3 separate regions of the Homo sapiens genome follow, and regions 1 and 2 are each linked to region 3. Evidence: promoter capture Hi-C in 16 types of primary human blood cells and fetal thymus (Javierre and others, 2016). All regions are on one chromosome and are shown on one strand. Each heading gives the region's core, a stretch centred on a gene start or on the middle of the fragment in contact. The rest is flanking DNA. Distances are from core to core; before and after follow the strand shown.

Region 1 (4,221 bases), core at 1,223-3,722, 310 kb after region 3:
AGCATTTTAAAAATTCTCCAACCTTCATTGCCTACTGCCTCTATCTAACTGCCGGAAAGATGTGGTGTACCTCTCATTATTAGTCTGCAATCTATCAGGCTATGTACACTATATAGTTCAGCAGTTCTAGTTCAGAGAAAATTAGCTTACACAAACAAAAAGCTGAGTCACTCTATAAGAAAACCAAGCCTTCCATTTTTATTTTTGGCATTGAAGCCCTGTTGCCTAGAGATTATGTTTACTGTAGAGTTAAAGAACGTTCATTTTCTTGGAACATTTCAGAAGAGGAGGTAACTCTCTGGGATGATGAGGTCATTTCTGAAGTTAACTGGGAGAGAAGTGAGTCTCTTGTAAGGGAAACAAGAACTTAGACGGAGCCCAAGTGAGCCGCAGAAAGGATCTTTCTTGGGTTTTTTGTTGGTTTGCTTTTGTTTTTGTTTGCTTTTGAGATGGAGTTTTGCTCTTGTTGTCCAGGCTGGAGTGCAGTGGTGTGATCTCAGCTCACTTCAACCTCTGCCTCCCTTGTTCAAGCAATTGTCCTGCCTCAGCCTCCCCTGTAGCTGGGATTACAAGCATCCACCACCACATCCAGCTATTTTTTTGTATTTTTAGTAGAGATGGGGTTTCACCATGTTGGCCAGGCTGGTCTCAAACTCCTGACCTCAGGTGATCCACCCACCTCGACCTCCCAAAGTGCTGGGGTTACAGGCCTGAGCCACCGCGCCTGGCCATCTTTCTTGGATTTCACCATGTAGACAGTAGTTTCCAATAGTTCAGTTTAGGCCATTTGTTAACTAAAGGTCACAGATACGCCCTGAGTTTTTGGAAAACCTGCAGGTCAGCTTAACTTTGGGACTTTCACTGTTCCTATTTATGCCACCTAAACCACCTAATAGGCTGTGACCTAAATAACCAATCAGAACTCATCAAAGATCAAGCAATCAAAACTAAGCAAGTTTGAATCCTTCATTCACATAAGAGGACCTGAGAGGGAACCTAGGTGGGCACACTCTCTATAAAAAATAAACCCTTTTCTTATTATCTGGAATGCACTTCCAGTTAATACTGAAGCTACATCTCTGCAGTTTGCAACTTTTCACTGGAATAAAACCTCTTTTTTCTAAATCTCTTTTCAGGGAACTTCTTCACAGGGTTAAATTGTGTCCTCCCAAAAAATATAGTATACTGGAGTTCTAGCCCTTAGTACCTTAAAGTGTGACCTTATTTGGAGATAGGATCTTTACAGAGGTAATCAAGTTAAAATAAGGTTATTAGAGTGGGCCCTAATCCGATATGACTGGTGTCCCTATAAGAGAGAAAATGTGGACACAGAGAGGCAGAGAGAGAGATGTATTGACAGAGCATGATGTAAAGACATGCACACGGCAGAACATCCTATGAAGACAGGTTGTGCTGCCATGAGTCAGGAGACTACCAGAAGGTAAGAGGGACACATAAGACCGATCCTTCCCTGGTACTTTCAGGGAAAGCATGGCCCTGCCAACAGCCTGACCTCAGACTTCCAGCCCCCAAACCATCAGACAATACATTTCTGTTGTTTAAGCCACCCAGCGTGCAGTACTTTGTTACAATAGCCCCAGAAATACATTGGTGAAATTAGGCTGAGTCCAGTTCTCATTGTCACTGGCGTTAGATTCTACGGATCTTGCTTTCTTCACTGCAGTATCAACCACTGATCATCTGTGACCTTTATGGCTGATTGAATCAAGGAACTCCAGGCCTCAAAATATGGAAGACTGAATGGGACCAGATGGACATTTCAGAGAAGATCTGCACCAGAAATATTGATTGTGAGGTAGTAAAGAATGTCATAAAGCCAAAAATACAGAGATGACAAAATTATAGAAATGGAGAATAGATCAGTGGTTGCCAGGACTTAGAGAGGGAGAGAAGGATCTGAGCATAAAAGAGTAGTGCTAAGGAACTCCCTCATGGTAACGGAGCAGTTCCGTGTCTTGTTAGCTCTGGTGTTACACAAATCTATACGTGGGGTAAAATCATACAACTATGCACAGAGCATGTAAAAAAAAAGAGTGTATTCAAAATCTGGTGACATCCAAGTAATATCTGTAGTCTAGTTAATTGTACTGTTCTAATGTCAATTTCCTAGGCTTAATAACGTACTGTTGTTAAGTAAGATGTTAGTTACAACTGGAGGAAGCTGGGGGATGGGTACGCAGTGTCTCCTGGTAATATTTTTGCAATTTCTTGTGAGTCTGTAATTCTCTCAAAATAGAAAGTGTTTTATCAAAAAGAAAGGTTGGCTGGAACCTAGAAGCTAGAGGTCTTAGTTCATTAATTTCTACTATTTATGTGGTTTCAACCTTTGACCTTGATGGCCCTGGTGTAATCGCTTGTTAACTTAACACTATAGTTCAGAATGTGATACTTTAATAATCACAGCCAGTTTTTAAAAATGGATGTCAAGGGCAAAGAGAGCAAAATGTTAAGCATGCACCGTGGAACATGTTAGAATTTCAGTTATTAATCTGACTCTCATAATTTCTGATCTGATTTGAACCTGTTAAATAGCTAACACACTCCAAAGTTACATCTGTGTTTCATTGGTTGTCAGCTGGTGACTGCTGCAATTTTCACATTGAGATTATCTAATTCTGTACCAGCATGATTTTCACTTAAAAAAAATGAGTTTATGAAATGTAATCATTGATTCTAAGAAGTGTTCCAGACTTAATCATTAGTATCTTTTAAACTTCTCCCTGGTGCTTCTTTAGAGATGTAATCAAATCTGATGCTCTTCAGGAAAATTTTCAGGAAATATTCATATATTTTGTTTCCAAATTCATTTTTTAAATGGTGGTACTTAAAATACATTGGTAGCAGAATAACCAAGCTACAGAACAGGATTATGGATGATCCCATTGGTGTATGAAATATCTATGTGTGGGTACATGTGCATTTATTTTAATATATGAATAGGAAGAATAGACATCACACTGTTAACAATGATTACTACTGGAAGATTGAAATTGCAGGAGACTCATTCTCTAAGGAATACGTATATTTCCAAAATATTTAGTCAATAAAGACCAAAGTGATATTTGATGCCCTTCCCAATCATACTGGTCAACAATCAGCATGTGTCCACCTCATTCTTCTATCACTACACAAACAAGCACATACACAGTGTCTATTAGCAGATCACTAACCCTGCAGTAATGATGCTGAGGAAGTCTTAGATTATAGGGAAGAATCCCAGGTATTATTTTCTTTTGTTTCTTTACCTCTTGCATTTTAATCCAGCCTAACTGTAGCTGTACATCTCAATCCAGCTAAATCACTATATCCTGTTCCAAATTCTTTAACCCCCCCGCTTTTTTTGGCAGCCTCAGAACCCTTGGGTTTACAGCATTGGCCTCCATCTCACCTCTAATGTAGAGAATGTGGTGTTTACAAGTAGTCTGTTGTGTCTGAACCTTAACTTGGTTACTCCTATGGCACAGAGTCTTCTGTGGGAGTCCTTCCTCTCAGCTTCAACCTGATCCCTGTGTTCCTCTGTTCTGCTAGTGATGGCTGGGGCAAAGAATGCCCTGCTTAGCACTGCAGGTGAATTGTGAGGGAGAGAGGAGCCTAGGTGCCAGCAGCCTGGAAAACATGCAGCAGGGACTGAACATGGTTATACTTGGGCAGAGCATAACCAGAGCACAGTAACATCAATAAGGACATAAAGAAGATAGGAGCTTGCTGCCTGATGTGGTTTTTGTACATCCAGCTCCCATACACATGTATTCAAGTCTAAGAAGTAAAGGGAGACCCAGAACTCTCCAGGAATACAGGAAAGAGAAAGACAACATACATGATGAGTCACTAATCTCCTAAATAGGCATGTGTGGAAAAGGAGAGGGTTCTACCTTTGCAGATAAATCACGGCTGGGCAGGGGGTGGGCAGTGCTGCATCTGGAGAGGGTGCCACAAAGTAGCAGGGTCACAGAAGTCTTCAAAGACCGTGTCATACTGAGAAGTTGACCCTCTGAAGTCACTGACCCAGGACAGAAGATAAGTTTGTTGACAGTCTGAGCCCTCTTCTTTTGAAACCCTCCCTATATAGAGAACAGGGCCAAAGTCCAAGACACAATCATGACAAAAACCCTGGCCCTCACCCTTTATGCGAGAAGCTGAAGATCAGTTCATCAATTACCAGCGGGATTGCGGTGAGAGGACCTCAGCTCTGAAAGATTC
Region 2 (3,939 bases), core at 886-3,385, 330 kb after region 3:
AAAGTTATATAAACCTGAACTAGTAGGATAACCAAATACTTGTTCCCCTCTGAAAAGTTGAAATATTAAAACAAATTTTACCCAGAATGTGTCTCTGGATTTTTGTGGTTGTTTTCTCATGTGTGTGGTTTGGTTTGTTTGTTTGTGTTTTTTTAGACAAGGAAAACTTAATTGAGTAGTAGTTTTATCTCTTACTCATTTTAACAGGAGCATGTATGCAGAGGCCCAAATTGCCAATCACCAGTATTTATCCACATGGAAAAATCCTAAGGACATTAATTATAAATGATTTATCATCCACTCAAATAGCAGGAAGGAGAATTGAAAGGCAAATTTGAAACAGGAAATGTTATTCCTTAAAAACAAGGGCTTTTCCTCATTTCTTTGAAAATAGCTAACTCAAGGATTAATTTCACTATCAAATCAACAGCTAAGACTTACCCTACCATTTCTACCCATTAAGGAGCTATTACTAACAAAGTATCTGCAGATATGGATAACAGCTACTAACGGGGGGCATTTTAGGATTCCCTTATGAAATGGTATCATGGTGGTGCGGGCGAGCAGGGATCCATAAACCCAGCTCAAGTAGGGTGAACTGTGTGTTATAGGTCCACTTGTTAAGATAATTTACTCACTTACAGAAACTTTTTTTAGATTACATATACACTCAACATACATGTCAACTTTTGTATGGAGTGATGATTGCTGTCCAAGGCTGCAGGAAATAGGTGGGAATTTTTATCCTCAACCACTCTGCAAGGGATCCTGCATAAGAACCACCAACATGACCCACATATGGTGGTGAGCTCCACATCCTCGCTATTGCCACTTGGAAGGGGACAGCATCTGCCAAGGCTACCTGTGCTGAGGCAGTAAAGGCGGGCATGCTCAGATCGCCCGAAGTAAAGCATAAACAAACTCTGTTTATGAAAACAGTGCAATCAGCTTGACTATCCAATAAAAATGTGTATTTTAAAAGTATGTTTATACCAGGTTCAACTTGAAAATTTCATTAGGATAATCTGGATGACAGGGAAACTGAATGCAGGAGCTAGCAATAATCACTAGCATTTTTGCAGTCTCATTTGGATGATGGCATTTCCTTTTGTCACCACTGGGAAGGCAATTCAAGTGCCTGTCCCTACCCACAGGATGACTTTTCTCATACACTGAACTGAACCACAACCATCAAATGATCAACCCGACTGAGAGAAGAGCCTGTTTTTGAAAGGGCTAAAATGTCAGTGATTTAACTCTTTCCAAAGAATTAAGAAAACTCATAGTTGATTGTACTTGATGTTATTTTCCCGTCTTCCTGGTTTGCCTGTGACATCAGACAAAGCCATATTTGAGTCTGAGTTTTCTCAGTCATAAGAAAACTACATAAAAATTTGCTAGTTACTTTTCAACAGTTGTTTATTCCATAAAAAGGTTTCCTATAAAAGTAGGATTTTATAAAATCCTAATTACTGCAAAGAAAAATTTCCTCCTGACACACTCAAACCATATAATACTATAGCTAGCTAAATATTAATTTAATGGTAGACAAAGGACATAGGATATTCACAAAAAGAAATATGAATGACCAGCAAATACATGGAAAAGTTTAGCTCTTTTTATTGTCAAAGTAATGCAAATATAAACAGGATATTTTTCCCTCCTATCAAACTGGCAGAGACTTATTTTGGATGATAGTATTGGGTGTTGGCAAGGACGTGACAAGTGTGCAGACTCTCTCATGCACAGCTTAAGGAGGATTAAGCAGTAGAGACGTTCTGGCACCAGTGTGTCCTCATATATAACAAGGGCTTCAAACAGCAAAATTATAGCTTGGCTCAGGAATTCCACTGCTGAGAACCCATAGCTGAACTTGCTAATTTTCCCCTAATATCCATTGTCTCTTTAATTTTTAGGTAATTAAATTCTGAATTTTAGCTGGGCATGTGGCTGCCCAGAATAAACATTACATATCCCAGCCATCCTTACAGTTAGACAGAAACTGACTAAATTCTAGCCAATGGGATATAACTGAAAGTATTATGTATAAGCTCCCGAGAAATGTCATTAAAAGGCAGCTGCAGTAAGTCTTTTCTCCTGTTTTGTGCCACTTGGAATGTAAATGGATGGTGAGGCTACATCTTGGATCGCAAAGATGAGATCCTCACTCCATTAGTGTTAGATGAGAAAACTGGAAGTGGCTTGGGTCCCAGATGACCAAGGAGATGCAGTGCCACTCATGGTTCTATGGGATGTTTAAATGTAGAATTTCGTGTTACAAAGAAATAAAAAGCACCTGTCATTATGCCACTGTTGTTATTTTGGTTCTCTGTTGCTCACAACCAACATGAAATATATGCTAAAAATTCACCAAAATTTCATGTTCATGAATGTTTATGTTCACTATTGTGAAGAGCAGATAAATATCTGTATGTTCAATAATAAAAGAACAATTATATAAATTATGTTCATTTGATGCAACATACTTTACAATGCAGTCATGCAGTCATGAGAATCTTAGTTTTGAGGATATTTATTGACAGCTCATGACATATGCTAATTAGGGGAATGGAGAATAATACAGTCTTTCACAAGCACACACATCTTCATTTTAACTAAAACTAATGTATTAGTACTTATTCATGTTCATTCACATATCTATTTTGTAAACAAATTCTAGATATTTCCACTTTCGTATCCAGCCTGTAGTTTTCAGCTGCTAGATTGGGGATAATTCGTTATGTAGCAATATGTAACCAATGCATTTTATCTTACCTATTTTTATCCTTTTCTTTCTTGACTTCTTTTGAATAAATCAATTTTTTAATCATTCTGTTGTTTTTCTCTGGTAATTTAGAAATTATACGTTGTTCTTTTATTCGTTTAATTATTACCCAAAGTTACAACTTGTGTATTAACGTATCAATGTCTACAGTTAGCACCTTTATTTTCTGCAAAATATAAGGACCTTGAAGAAAACTTTTCAATTCAACTTATCCCCTTCCAACTTATATATTATTATGGGGTGTATTATAATTCATTACTATTATTATTATTACATTCCACAATTATTTTAGTTTGCTTTTTAATTCTTTGTTTATTATTACATCTCAACTCTTCCATGTAGAATCAGTTTTATCCTGATTGAAATAAACCATCTGTTACTTTTCTTTTTAATAGAGACGGTTCTCACTATGTTACTCAGGCTGGTCTCTTGAGCTCAAGGGATCCTCCCACCTCAGTCTGCCAAAGTGTTGGAATTACAGGTGTGAGCCACTGTGCCCAGCCTGTAATTTTTTAATGAGGGTCCACTTATAGAAAAACTCTTTCATTTGTTTAAAATGACTTCATTCAAAAATATATACAAGATAACATTTTTTTGATTTTCATTGTTGATGTTGGGAAGTTAGCTATGACTCTCTAAATATTGGCCCTTTGAAGATTATCCTTTTTCTCTTTTTCTTTGATTTTCTGAAGAGACGTTTATGATATGTCTAGGTGTGGAGCTCATTCTCTTATATCTCCTTCTGAAACTCAAGAAAAATATGAAACATATATCTTTAATCTCTCATTAGAATTGATTTTCCTTTTATTTTCCTCCAAGTTGTATTGTGGATTATTTCTACGGGGATTATAATTTTGCTTGTTACATTTATCTTATTTCTAAAATTATGTTTCTCATTCAAATCTGCTGTCACTTTTTATTTTTACTTTTCTATTCTAGTCACAGGTATTTTAGATGTGTTTTTTTTTTCTTTCTTTTTTTTGGGGGTGGGGGACAGAGTCTTGCTCTATCACTAGGCTGGAGTGCAGTGGCGATCTCGGCTCACTGCAACCTTCACCTCCCAGGTTCAAGCAATTCTCCTGCCTCAGCCTCCCGAGTAGCTAGGACTACAGGCACGTGCCACCATGCCCAGCTAAATTTTGTATGTTTAGTAC
Region 3 (3,805 bases), core at 1,305-3,804:
TAAAGTGTTTATAACAGAATTATACTAACATTGATGCATTTTTTTTGAGAAAATGTTTTCTGGAATAAGCTCCATGAAACCAATTAAATTTCTTGATCAATTTTCTATACAGCACAAGTATCCTATTTCTAATTGTATTTTCATGTTTCTATTGCTTAATGTATTTTCATGAATTTTTTTCCACATTTATTTCCTAAGATGTTATTTGTTGCTCAGGTTTACTAAGGCTTTTTGCTAATCAGTTTTACTATCATGAGTTTTCTGTTGCAGCTTTTAGATCTATCAAGTCAAATTTTCCATCAAGTCAAATTTTCCAAAGCTAGGTTGAACAGATGTAACTTTGGTGAAGACTGATTCTATATCGATATTTATCAGTAACTCCAATTTTGTATTTTGAACAGTTTTAACTATAGTAATTTTCATTCTATGGTAATTATTTCTGTCTGTAATTTTCCTTGTGAGTTGGATTAAAGGCCACTATTTGGTAGTTATTCCTTAGCTAATCTATGAAGTAGTGGTGAGTAATCCCAGGTGGTTCAGAATTGCTTGATTGTTCAGGAAGGTCCTATAGCAGAGCTTACTAACTTTGTTATCCATCTTTCTGTGCCCCGTATTCCAGCTGCCTTCACCATCATTGAAGGAATATATAAGCAATATCCCTGGCATCAAAACACAAAAGGTTGTGTTCCCCAAGGGTTAAAGTGAACCCTCAATCGCCTCACCTCCTCTTCCTAAGTGTGACTTTTCCCCACCCTTCCACCTGACCTTAACCCAATGAAAACTCGAAAGTTGTTGACATCTGTGAGCTTTGATCAAATTAGGGCTAACAGCAGGTTAAAGGAAAAATCAGGTTTTTGAGGGCTGAAAAACACATTGGCCTTTTTCTTCCTTAAAGTTTTCTGAGCCTGGATCCTGGAACCAAGTCCTCCTCCTATTATGTGTTTATTGAATAAATAGACAAATGTATGAGCAGATTTTAAAAAACTGGTTAATTCCTAAGTTCCATGAAGGGCATTAGTAGAAGAAATCTTTTGAGGACCTACATTTTTTTAATCTGCAAATGATGCTCTCGTTGTTGTATGACTGAGAAACTCTCAACACAGAGACACCTCATTTTAACTTAACATGATTGTGCTACAACTGGCTTAGATTATTTTTCCTAATAAATGAAATTCTACAGAAATGACAGTTCCCTGCATTTTCTCCTAATCCATTTATTGGATTGATGTTCCATGAATTTTCAATACTTTACATACATTGAAACAAGAAGGTCAATCGTAACCTCCTTTCACCCCTTCTTGGAGAATTTCCTTCAACCAGAAATCCATCAGTTTGTTTTTTGGTGTGTGCTCAGCCCCTCTTTTGCTCTCTCCCTCCCCAAAGGGAACCCTTTTATAAGCTGAGATGAACCATTTAGATTCTCCCTTTTGAAATGGTCAAGCTGAGAAACCCAAATTGAGTTCTATGATCCTGGCACTGAAGATTCTCGGGCTAAGTCATAACATGCTTTGTGGTCTGTGTTTCAGAGAGATGAATGTAGGTGAGCTGTGTCTGGGGAAGGGAGGAAGGTACCAGGCCAATTACACTAACCACGGAAAGAGGTGAGGAGAGCCACCAGGTACCTGCAGTGGAAATAAATGGAAAAAGCACTTGGTGGAAACTGCACCGAAGAGGGGGTTTGTCGAAACAAAAACAATCAAAGACATAGGAGTTCAATCTGGGTGACTGCTGGGGACACAGATGCCTTTAACAAAGAGATCACAGAAAGCATTGCCCCTTTGAGGGTCTAGATGTTCAGCAGGCAACTCAAAACTGGGAATTCAAACAAGCCTCCCTTTGTGACTTAATATGTTCTTTTAAAAATTGTACTGTATTAACAGTTTGGTAGGAAAGCAATAGAATTACATTGTTAAAGAGTGTTAACATAAAGAAGGAAGAAACTGTAATTCCCCTATTACCGTTTTATGTTTTTTTCCAGTCATTTTCCGGATGTTTAAAAATATGTACTATTAGATTGCTTTTAAAGAAAAATTTTAATTTTGGATAAGCCAACATTTCTGAGTCTAGGGTTTCCAAAACTAAGGCTTTTGGAGGCGTGCTGGGTCAAAAATAGAAGCTCGGTAAATACTTGCTCAGTAGTGGCCTAGAACACTAAATATAAATTAAAAATGTTTTCTTTTTTTGAGGATTTAAATGTTTCCTTAACCTGAAAGCGAAACAGATTTTTGTTTGTTTTGCTGTAACGAGAGAGGAAGGAACAAGAGAGTGACAGGGTGAAGCAACTTCTCCCAGAAACTTTTGGGCGCAAACGCCCTCAAGTCCGGATCATTGGAAAGTAACTCGAAGAGAGGAGAGAACTAGCGCAAGCGTAGCCTCAAGGCGGCCGCAATCACCCCGCCCCGGGGCTGTCTCCGCCCCTGCCCTCTCTCAGTCGCCCCGCCCCGGGGGCTGTCTCCGCCCCAGCCTTCTCTTCGCGTTCCGCGTTCCGGGTTCCGGGGGAAGTGTGTTACGGGGACACTGGCCCGACTACTTTCGTTCCGTCTTCCATCGTTTTCTCTCGTGCAATGGCGTCCGGGCTGGTAAGATTGCTGCAGCAGGGACATCGCTGCCTCCTGGCTCCAGTCGCCCCCAAGCTGGTCCCTCCGGTTCGGGGAGTGAAGAAGGGATTCCGCGCCGCCTTCCGCTTCCAGAAGGAGTTAGAGCGGCAGCGCCTTCTGCGGTGCCCGCCGCCGCCCGTGCGCCGGTAGGAGCCACCTCGGGAAGAGGTCTCAGGGTGGCGGTCGCAGACACTGGGTCTTCTTCCCGCGGCGTCGTGTCTGCGGCTGATGCGCCCCTGGGTTAAGCCTTAGGAAGTTTGCGATGGAGACACCCGTGAGCTGTGGGCGCGGGGCCTGAGGCAAAAAAAATGGATTTGTGCCGCGGGCGGTAGAGCTTCGGGCTGTTCCCGACGTTTTGAAACTACCATTTAGGATTTTGGCTACTGAAAATTGGGAGAAATGGGGCTAACTGGAGGGTCTTCCTTATGTGGACTTGGATGTTGTAGTCCCCGTTTGTAATGCCTGAGAATTCCGATAAGCGGGAAGAAAGCAGCCCACAGCATCGTAAATTAAGGAGAAAAAAAATTAATCTACAACCTGAATTCTGCTGTCTAGAGTAAAAGGAAAAAAAGTTAGCTTTAGATTTTTGCCCTAATTAATGCTGTTCTGGTAACAGGTTTGGCAGAGAGAGACACAGGTTTTTATAGCTTCAAACCAGATCATACTTTACATAATTTAAATTCCTTCATCTTGCTTTTTCTCTTTAATAATGTGTGTTTGACATGTTGTCATGGTATTACAAAGATATGTACCTCACTCTTTTTTATGGCTCTGTATATATGGGCCTATGAGCTCCATATTATTGCCATTAAAACCTATGTAACAGCGCGTAAAGGGGACGCATGTGTAGTATGAAATTTTGAAAGCTATTAGTACTTTAACATTGCCCTCCAAAAAATGTTGATCCACTTTGTACTCCTACCAGTAGGAACGGTCTTCTAACAGAGAAGATTATAGCAAAAAATAAAATCTCTTCTTAATTCCCATTCCCTTGTTTATTATAAGATTAAGTATTTTAGGCTCTCAAAGGTGGAAGAAACTTTATGGGTTGGACAGATTATATAGGTGTATATGTTATATGTATATCTTACGACTTTCAACCTAGGTTTTCATACTTTGCTTCCCTTTGTTTCTTAAAGGGGTTTTATATTGTGTTACGTATAAGTAATCCAGAGATGACTTAAAGTATACAGGAGGATGTGCATAGG

What was found. The method cuts DNA at HindIII sites, captures the fragments that hold promoters and counts their contacts. A CHiCAGO score of 5 or more calls a contact.
Region 1: a fragment that was not itself captured here is called in contact with the fragment with the promoter of MRPL44 in region 3 in 1 of 17 cell types (megakaryocytes); the score reaches 7.3 in megakaryocytes.
Region 2: a fragment that was not itself captured here is called in contact with the fragment with the promoter of MRPL44 in region 3 in 8 of 17 cell types (megakaryocytes, naive B cells, naive CD8 T cells and 5 more); the score reaches 8.4 in megakaryocytes.

What each region holds. Positions count from the first base shown.
Region 1 is chr2:224,268,428-224,272,648 of GRCh38, forward strand. No RefSeq gene overlaps it. Among named protein-coding and RNA genes, the nearest start is that of FAM124B, 130 kb to the right of the region's middle. The HindIII fragment of the contact is 8,330 bases long and covers 1-4,221 here.
Region 2 is chr2:224,285,965-224,289,903 of GRCh38, forward strand. No RefSeq gene overlaps it. Among named protein-coding and RNA genes, the nearest start is that of FAM124B, 110 kb to the right of the region's middle. The HindIII fragment of the contact is 8,711 bases long and covers 1-3,939 here.
Region 3 is chr2:223,954,909-223,958,713 of GRCh38, forward strand. MRPL44 (mitochondrial ribosomal protein L44) reads left to right here and starts at 2,555. Exons shown (of 4, transcript NM_022915.5): 1 at 2,555-2,743. The coding sequence starts at 2,565. RefSeq lists a silencer at 2,330-2,399 and an enhancer at 2,470-2,639. The HindIII fragment of the contact is 10,687 bases long and covers 1-3,805 here.